Regions from separate parts of the Homo sapiens genome. Here region 1 is linked to region 2. Evidence: promoter capture Hi-C in human tissues and cell types (Jung and others, 2019). All regions are on one chromosome and are shown on one strand. Each heading gives the region's core, a stretch centred on a gene start or on the middle of the fragment in contact. The rest is flanking DNA. Distances are from core to core; before and after follow the strand shown.

The links. The method cuts DNA at HindIII sites, captures the fragments that hold promoters and counts their contacts. A contact is called where the count stands out against the background at its distance.
Region 1: a contact is called between a fragment that was not itself captured here and the fragment with the promoter of ZNF641 in region 2, in 1 of the 25 tissues and cell types used here (adrenal gland).

Annotation. Positions count from the first base shown.
Region 1 is chr12:48,613,850-48,618,595 of GRCh38, reverse strand. No RefSeq gene overlaps it. Among named protein-coding and RNA genes, the nearest start is that of SNORA2C, 38 kb to the left of the region's middle. The HindIII fragment of the contact is 5,812 bases long and covers 429-4,746 here.
Region 2 is chr12:48,348,428-48,353,047 of GRCh38, reverse strand. ZNF641 (zinc finger protein 641) reads left to right here and starts at 2,129. Exons shown (of 6, transcript NM_001172681.2): 1 at 2,129-2,262. RefSeq lists silencers at 1,619-1,698, 1,979-2,408 and enhancers at 1,374-2,110, 2,549-2,618. The HindIII fragment of the contact is 12,105 bases long and covers 1-4,620 here.

The DNA.
Region 1 (4,746 bases), core at 2,085-4,584, 260 kb before region 2:
GGCAGCATTGCAGACAGACACAAGAGCTCCTGAGTAGAAGAAACTGGCAAACATCTTCATTTAGGTTGACTATGGTGAAGCAAATTTTCATATCCATCATCTCATGCAGTTACTCATGGTTTTTGTTTTTGTGGCAAGAGCAGCTAAAATATACTCATTTAGCTTGAATCCCGTATAGAGTACAATTTTATTACCTGTGATCCTCATGTTTTATGTACATTTGATCTCTAGATTCGTTCATCCTATATATCTGCCACTTTGCATTCTCTGACATACATCTCCTCATTTCCTCCTCACACCTGCTCCCGGTAACCAGCGTTTTGTTCTGTAATAAATGAACTTTAAATATAAATATAAACATGAGAATATGTCATGAAAATGATTATCATAAGAAAGTTGTACTTGTCAAGGTGATTAAAGTAAAACAACAACAACAACAACAAAGAAAGCTGTAGTGGTTGTATTAATGTAAGACAAAATAGAGTTCCAAACAAGAAATTTTCTAGGAATAAATAAGAATTTATATAATGATAACGAGTTAAATTCATCAAGAAGGTAGAACAATCTGAAATGTGTGTGGACTCAATAACAGAGCTTCAAAATGAAGTGAATGAGGGAAAAACTGATAGAGCTGAAATGACTACAGTTGGATATTTCAACGTTCTTCTCTCAAGCATTTATTCAACGAGTAGTCAGAAAATCAGTATGTATGTAGAAAACTTACAAAACACTATCAACCAACTTGATATGATTGACATTTATAGTACACTTCATGTATAACAGCAAGAAAGACTTTCTCACCAAAATAGACCATATGCTGGGCTATAAAACAAAACTCAATAAATTTCAAAGAATTAAGATAAAGCTGAATATTTTCTATTACCACAAGGGGAGTAAATTAGAAATAAACAACAATAAAATATCTAGAATTTAAGCAACATACTTTTATTTTATGATGATTTTTTTTTTTTGAGATGGAGGCTCGCTCTGCCACCAGGCTGGAGTGCAGTGATGCGATCTCGGCTCACTGCAACCTCTGCCTCCTGGGTTCAAGTGATTCTCTTGCCTCAGCCTCCCGAGTAGCTGGGACTACAGAGACACACCACCACACCCGGCTAATTTTTTGTATTTTAGTACAGACGGGGTTTCACCATGTTGGCCAGGCTGGTCTCAAATTCCTGACCTCATGAACCCGCCTCGGCCTCCCAAAGTGCTGGGATTATAGATGTGAGCTGGGATTATAGATGTGCGCCCAGCCTATTATTATGATTTTTTGAGAGACATAGTCTCACTCCGTTGCGCAGGCTGCAGTGCAGTGGTGTGATCATAGCTTACTGTAACCTCAAACTCCTGGACTCAAATAATCTTCCTGTTGCAGCCTCCTGAGTGGCTGGGACTAGAGGCATGTGCCACTATATCTGCTTAATTAAGTTTTTTTTTTTTTTGTAGAGACAAGGTCTTGCTATATTGCCCAGGCTGGTCTCAAACCCCTGGCCCCAAAAAATTCTCCTGCCTTGGCCTCCCAAAGTGCTGGGATTACAGGCATGAGCCATTGTGCCTCGCATGCAATGTGTGTTTAAATAACCCATGAGTAAAGGAAGAAATCACAAGGGAAATTAGAAAATATTTTGAACTAAATTATAATAATTACATATGAAAAATTGTGAAATGCTGCTAAATCAGTGCTTAGAAGAAACTTTATGTCTTTAAATGCTTATGTTAGAAAGATAAATATTTAAAACCAATAATTTAAGCTTCCACTTTAACAAGGTAGATCAGGAAAAGCAAGATGGACTCAGAGTAAATAGAACAGAGAAAATAACAAAGAATGGAAATCAATGAATATAAAGGAGAAAAACCAATAAAACAAAAATTAGTTTTTAAAAATTTGAAACAGGGTATTGTTCTGTCATTCAGGCTGGAGTGCAGTGATATGATCATGGCTCACTGCAGCCTCAACCTCTTGGGCTCAGGTGATCCTCCCATCTCAGCCTCCCAGGTAGCTGGAACTACAGGTATACACCACCATGCCTGGCTAATGTTTTAGATTTTTTGTAGAGTCAGGGTTTCACCATGTTGCCCAGGCTGGTCTTGGACTCCTAGGCTCAAGTGGTCTGGCCTTCCAAATTGCTGGGATTACAGGCAAAAAATTAGCTCTTTGAAAAAAATCAATAAAATTGATAAATTATCAGCTAAATTGACTTAAACCCAGACAAACACAAATTATCAATATCAATAAACAAAAGAAGAGGTATCACTACAAACCCTACAGATATTAAAAGAATTAAAAGGCAGTATTATGAACAACCTTATGCCAATACATTTGACAATTTAAATAAAATTTTTAAATTACTTGAAAGATGCTAATGACCAGAATGACATAAGAATTAATACAAATCTGAATAATCTTATATCTATAAAAGAAATTAAACTCATAATTGCTGTAGTTTGGTAGACTCAGCCATTCCAGTCTGCTGGTTTTGGAGAATATAAAGTCTGGATGAGGAAAAGTCCCTCACAAAGCAACACAGCCACCTTGCCAGACTGTGGTCAGACTGCTTCTTTAAGCGGGACCCCAGTTCATTCTTCCTCACTGGGTGCAACCTCTCTGTGGGAGCTTCAGCCACTCCAGCTAGGGTTCTACAGAAAAAGCTCTGATCTCTCCCTGGGATAGAGCCCCTGGGGGAGGTGCAGCTGCTGTCTTTGTGGTTTGGTTGACTCAGTCTTTTCCAGCCTATCGGCTTTGGAGAATACAAACAGTCTGGACAAGGAAGGGCTCCCCCCAGTGCAGCACACCTGCTCTATCAAAAAGCAGTCAGATTGCTTATTTATTTATTTATTTTTGAGACGGAGTCTCACTCTGTCCCCCAGGCTGGAGTGCAGTGGCATGATCTCGGCTCATTGCATGCTCCACCTCCCAGGTTCATGCCATTCTCCTGCCTCAGCCTCCCGAGTAGCTGGGACTACAGGCACCTGCCACCACACCTGGCTAATTTTTTTTTTTTGTTTTTTTTTAGTGGAGATGGGGTTTCACCATGTTAGCCAGGATGGTCTCGATCTCCTGACCTCGTGATCCACCTGCCTCGGCCTCCCAGGGTGTTGGATTACAGGCATGAGCCCACTGTGCCCGGCACAGATTGCTTATTTAAGTGGGTCCCTGATCCCATTCCTCCTGACTGGGTGAGACCTCCCAACAGGGGTCTCCAGACACCTCCTACCAGTGTGTTTGGGCCAGCAACAGGTCAGTACCCACCTGGGACAAAGTTTCCAGAGGAAGGAGCTGGCAGCCATCTTTGCTGTTTTGCAGCCTTCACTGGTGATACCTCCAAGTACTGGAAAAAACAAGGCAACTAGGGTCTGAAGTGGACCCCCAGCAAACCACAGAAGCCCTACAGTAGTGTAGCTTGACTGTTAAGAGAAAAACAAACAAGCAAACAAACAAACAGAAAACAACAGCAACAACATCAACAAAAAAGACCCCACAAGAAGTCTGTTCAAAGGTTAGCAACCTCAAAGATTCAAGGTTGATAAGCCCACAAAGATGAGGAAGAATCAATGCAAAGAAGCTGAAAACTCAAAAAGCCAGAGGGCCTTTTTTCCTCCAAATGACCACAACACTTTTCCAGCAAGGACACAAAACTGGGCTCAGGCTGAGATGGCTGAATTGACAGAAGTAGGCTTCAGATGATGGGTAATAATGAACCTCACTGAACTAAAAGAGCATGTTCTAACCCAATGCAAAGAAGCTAAGAATCATGATAAAACAATATAGGAGGCTGGGTGCAGTGGTTCATGCCTATAATCCCAGGACTTTGGAGGCTGAGGCAGGCAGATCATGAGGTCAGGAGTTTGAGACCAGACTGGCCAACATGATGAAAACTGTCTGTACCAAAAATACAAAAAAATTAGCTGGGCACAGTGGTGCTTGCCTGTAATCCCAGCTAATTGGGAGGCTGAGGCAGGAGAACCAGTGAACTCAGGAGGCAGTGGTTGCAGTGTGCTGAGATCAGGCCACTGCACTCCAGCCTGGGTGACAGAGCAAATCTCCACCTCTACAAAATACAAAATGAAACAATACAGGAGCTAATAGCCAGAATAGCCAGTTTAGAGCGGAACAAAACAGACCTGATGGAGCTGAAAACACAACATGAGAACATCACAATGTGTCACAAGTATCAGTAGCAGAATAGACCAAGTGGAGGAAAGAATCTCAGAGCTTCAAGACTATCTTGCTGAAATAAGACAGGCAGACAAGAATAGTAATAATCTCGGAGCTTGAAGACAATCTTTCTGAATAAGACAGGCAAAAAAGAATGAAAAGGAATGAACAAAACCTCAGAGAAATATGAGACTGTTTAAAAAGACCTAACCTATGACTGATTGGGGTACCTGAAAGAGATGGGGCAAATGGAGCCAAGTTGGAAAACATACTACAGAATATCATCCAGGAGAACTTCTGCAACCTAGCAAGACAGACCAACATTCAAATTCAGGAAATGCAGAAAACTCCAGTAAGATACTCCACGAGAAGATCAACCCCAAGACACATAATCCTCAGAGTCTCCAAGGTCTACATGAAAGAAAAAAATGTTAAGGGCAGCCAGAAAGAAAGGCTAGGTCACTTACAAAGGAAAACCCATCAGACTAACAGCAAACCTCTCAGTGGAAACCATACAAGCCAGAAGAGATTGAGGGCCAATATTCAACATTCTTAAAGAAAAGAATTTCCAACCTGGAATTTTATAT
Region 2 (4,620 bases), core at 880-3,379:
TTCTCCTGCCTCAGCCTCCCAAGTAGCTGGGACTACAGGCACGCACCACCATGCCCAGCTAGAGACAGGGTTTCACTATGTTGGCCAGGCTGGTTTTGAACTCCTGACCTTGTGATCCGCCCGCCTCTACCTCCCAAAGTGCTGGGATTACAGGCATGAGACACTGCACCTGGCTTTTTTTATTTTTTGGAAACAATCTCACACTGATTTGTTTCCCAAAACAGTCGAGGAGAGTTTGGGCTATTATAATATCTATCAGTTCTTTCCAAACATTCTTTTCAGGTAAAGTCAGGTTTACGTACTTGGTTATGTTCAATTTAACTCTGTGTGACGAGGCAATGCTGTGTCCAGCAGCGCCCATTTCCTTTTCCATGAGGCACACATTCTTTACTTCCCAGCCACCCTTCTGGGTAGGGCCATGTGACCATGCGCATGAGTTCTGGCTAAGGGAATGGGGTGAAAATGATACACACCACTTCCAGGACTGGCCCCTAATATCTCTGACAAGTTAACCACGGCCAGCCTCCCTTATCTGAGGGCCACAGATTTGACTACATTACCAAGGCCTCGGCATGGGAGAACCACCAAATGCAAGAAGCCTGGTCCTTCAATGAATTCAAGAAGTACAGACCCCACCCTCTGGCCCCAACCAACTTGTTACCACACTGTGACTTGTATGAACATAAGCCTTTATGGAGTTAAGCCCCGAGATACTGGTTTTGCTAGCCTACTCCAATTAACGCACCTTATATTTACCACCAGTGGTAGCATAAGTGAAAAGAACCCCTGGACTTAGTTCCAGGACCCGGGATAAAAATTCTGGCTCTACTACTACCCCGACATATCCCATGATCTGCTCCTAGAATATGCTCTATACTCTTCCCAACTGCGTGTCTACTGCATTTTCCTCTTTCATTAGACAGCCCTCCTGACTCTTCTCTGCCTCACGATTTCTGTCAGAGTGGGGGGCCTTCTCTGACCTCCGTCCCATACGTGGTCACTTCTCTTTGCTTCAAGTGCAGCGTACGTTCCTCTGTTTTAGAATCTACGTTTTTATTGCAAATATTTGTTGACATGTGCTTCCCCAGACTGTGAATCCTTTAACTCCCAGCATTTAGTTACAGTGTCTGGCACACGTAGAAAATAAATATGCATTAAACGAATGATTGTCACATATGACCTTAAGTGAGTCAATTATTTTTTAAGTCTACTAAATAAAATTTTTGAAAATTGTTGTAATGATGAAATAAGGAATGTGAATGTGACTTGTAGGTTATAAACAGATTCTAACAGCAATGGGTTTACTCACTGTTTGTAGGCCCTTCTCATCTTTTCTAGTCAAATCCATCTTAATGCTGCAAGGTAGCACTATCCAATAGAAATATAATGCAAGCCATATTTATAGCCACATTTAAAAAGTTAAAACCAGGTGAAATTAATTTTAATATATTTAACCCAATATACCCAAAATATCACTTTTTAAATTAAATCTTCTAAATCTTGGAACACATCTCTATTCAGACCAGCCACATTTCGAGAGCTCAGGTGTCACCTGCGGCTACGGCTCCCGCAAATGGGACAGCAGCCGCAAGGCCAACTTCAGATAGCAACCTGACTTCCCCTCAGGCAGAATAAGTGACTCCTCCTCAGTGCTCTCTCAAGCCCTTTATCCTATCGTGAAAACTAGAGGGTACGCTCCTTGAGGAATTCCAGACTGTTGTCTGGAGAAATCGCTCTCGGCCTCGGTCTGGCCTGTAACGGGCGGTTACGCAATTCCAGGTAATTGACGAACCCTGAGGACAGAACTCCGTGGGAGGCCCAGTAGCCAGAGCGGAAAATGGTCAGTCAGGCAAGAGTGCGGGCAAGTGGCCACAGCAGGCTGCGATTCCGGCGCCCGCCGCCCTCCAAGCGTCTCGGGCCGCACCCTCCCCACAGCGGCGGGCGCGGAGGTCCCGGGTTCGCGTTTGGGGGCGCCTGAGCCGCAGCCCCGCCCCCTCCCGTCCCTCCCTCCCTCCCTCCCTCCCACTCCTCTCCCTCCCACTCCTCTCCCTCCCACTCCCCGCACCTCCGCCGCCGCAGAGCCCCGGAAGCGGGCGGGGATTTCCTGTGCCCGCCCCGCCCCGCCCGCGCCTGCCGGGCCGCCGTCTCCGCCTGTCGCTGGCTCCGCCGGCCGCCGGCTCCCAGACGCAAGCGGAGGGCGGAGGGGAGGGGCAGGCGGCGCCCGGGAGGGAGGCACCGGGCCGCGGGCCAAGCCTACCGGGGGTGAGTGGAGCCGGGCCGGAGGGAGCTGCGGCTGGAGGGAGGGACGCCTGGCTTCCCGGGGCGGCTGGTGGGGGCTCGGTCACCCATAGGGGCTGGGAGGAGGATCGGCGCGTCTTCCGGGTTGCTGCCTTTCCCGGGGGTCTGCCCCGCTGACATTCTGTGCCCGCCTCTCGCCCTGTCTCCCCGTGCCCATCGCAACTGTCAGGCCCTGCGGGCTCCCGCCGCTGTCACTCGCGCACAGGTTACCCCGTGGCTCCCTTTCTCTTCACTTGCTCATGCCCCAGCTCATGGGAAACCTGTTTTCTGACCTCACTTCCCCTGCTCCAGTTCTGCCTTGCTCGGATTCTCTGAAATCTGACCCTTTCCAGGGGCACTGTGACAAGAAGAAGGGAAGAAGCAACCTTACCCCTGAGCAGGCTCCCGTCCCGCCCATGCCCTACCCGTGGCAGGGGCCAGGGTTCTCTGATGGACGGAGCCAACTCGTCCGTGTGCCCTTGGGCTACTCATTTTTATAACATGGCCCCTTTTCTGTTCATCAGCACTGGCTGCAGAAACTTCCTTTTGCAGGTCCCTTGCTACCCATATGTGTGAAGAAAAGGGGGAAATGAAAGCCCTAGAACCCACACTGCAGTGGGCATGGGATCATCCTGGAACCAGGAGAAACGAGGTTAGGGCTACCACCTTAACCGCCCAGGTGCTGGCTCTGCGTGAATATCTTAGGAAATGCAAGCTGAGGACAGGTACCCATCCCATCCTTTGCTGAGATTTTTGCTAGCACTTCCACGGATTTCTGTCAGTGGTATAGAAAAACTTACAGCTGGCCCAATGGGCTCTGCACAAAGAGGCTTCCCATTAAGAGACTCTGCTACCTGGGGGAGATGGAGAAAGGGTTTGAGACAAGTGTCCAGATATGTAGCTAGAGGTAAAGCCTTCAGGGAGGATTTGCACAGGAGCTAGAGAACCAGAAAGATGGGACGAAGAGGGAGAATTAGTGCCCTGTGTGTTAAAAGTGGATACAGAGCTGGAATTCAGAGAAGAGAGCTAAAATGGAAGTTTCCCTTTATTGCTTTAGCAAGAATTTTCCTTTCTCATGAAAAGTCTCTGAAAAGGAAACCTCCTAGGCTGGGAATCAGTCCAGGGTGCTCCCATGAGGCCCTGAGCCATCTTTGGACTTCTGAGATAAAAAGGGAATTTGTTTTTCCTGTGCATTGGGCTTAGGGTTCCCACCTACCTCTTTTGTCAAAGACAAATAGGCAAGAAAATAGACGACTTGACATCTGTGATTACCTACCCTGGCCTTCAAGGTTCTTGCAAGTGTTATTGAAAGGATGTAAGTAAGCCAGGATAGTTACCAAGTTTCTGACTGCTCTTGGAAGCCTTTCACTGACTCTGACTGTTTGGATATTGAATAAGAATACCCAAAATATGTTGCCAAACAGAAAGAGATTCTGAGTCTCAGATTATTTCTCTGCCATAAAGCCCTATCACAACAGAAGTGTGACCCATCCTGCTCTTAAGTTGTCTAAAGAAAAAGAAGAGCCCACTATCTGGTATTGTACACTGCAGGATTATTAAGAATTAAAAAAAAATAACCTAAATCTCTTCTCTTGCAATCAAGACCCATTTTTTTCTGTTTGACCTATATAGAGATAGAAGGGACCTCTGTTTTTATTCATTAGTAGCATCATTCATCAGCCTTCTTCTCCAGACAGAGAAAACTACATCCGACATTTTTAACTTTCCCAGTGGCTGTATTTCCAATCCCTTTCTTGACTTTGATGTTTTCTGATGAACACACACTGGCTTCACCATACGCTTCTTTCAAACTGAATATATTTTTCTAATGAGATCTGACTGGTGCCTGACAAATAAACAGGTTTGTTCTTCTGGGTCATGTTAGCAGCAGTTCTTCCCCCCTTTTCCAGCTCTGGTTCAAACTCTTTCTGTTCCTTTTTACTTTTCCTGATTAAACTTCAGCTCCTCACAGACCAACAATTTCTCTTACCTCTTAGGATTACTTTGGAGTCTTAACACCTGCTTTCCAAGTTATCAGTTTTTCTACCATATTTACTACCAGTTTTCATTGGATGGTAGACCAAGTGCCTTTTTATTGAGGCTTGTCCCAAGTGAGGTACCTTTTGGCCCAGCCTCATGATACAAATACGCCCCTTGGTTGGGACTTTTACCTATAGTAATCATTTCATTCTAAACTGATGAGACTGTGATTTGTGGCAGAAAATCTTCTGTGTGATTACATCCATCTTGTTGAGTGCAGGTCTATATGTATTTCTTCCTGTATGTTTCCAAATTGCTTACTTTCCTGTACTTCATGTGCTTGAAATTAAATGGATAGCCTTT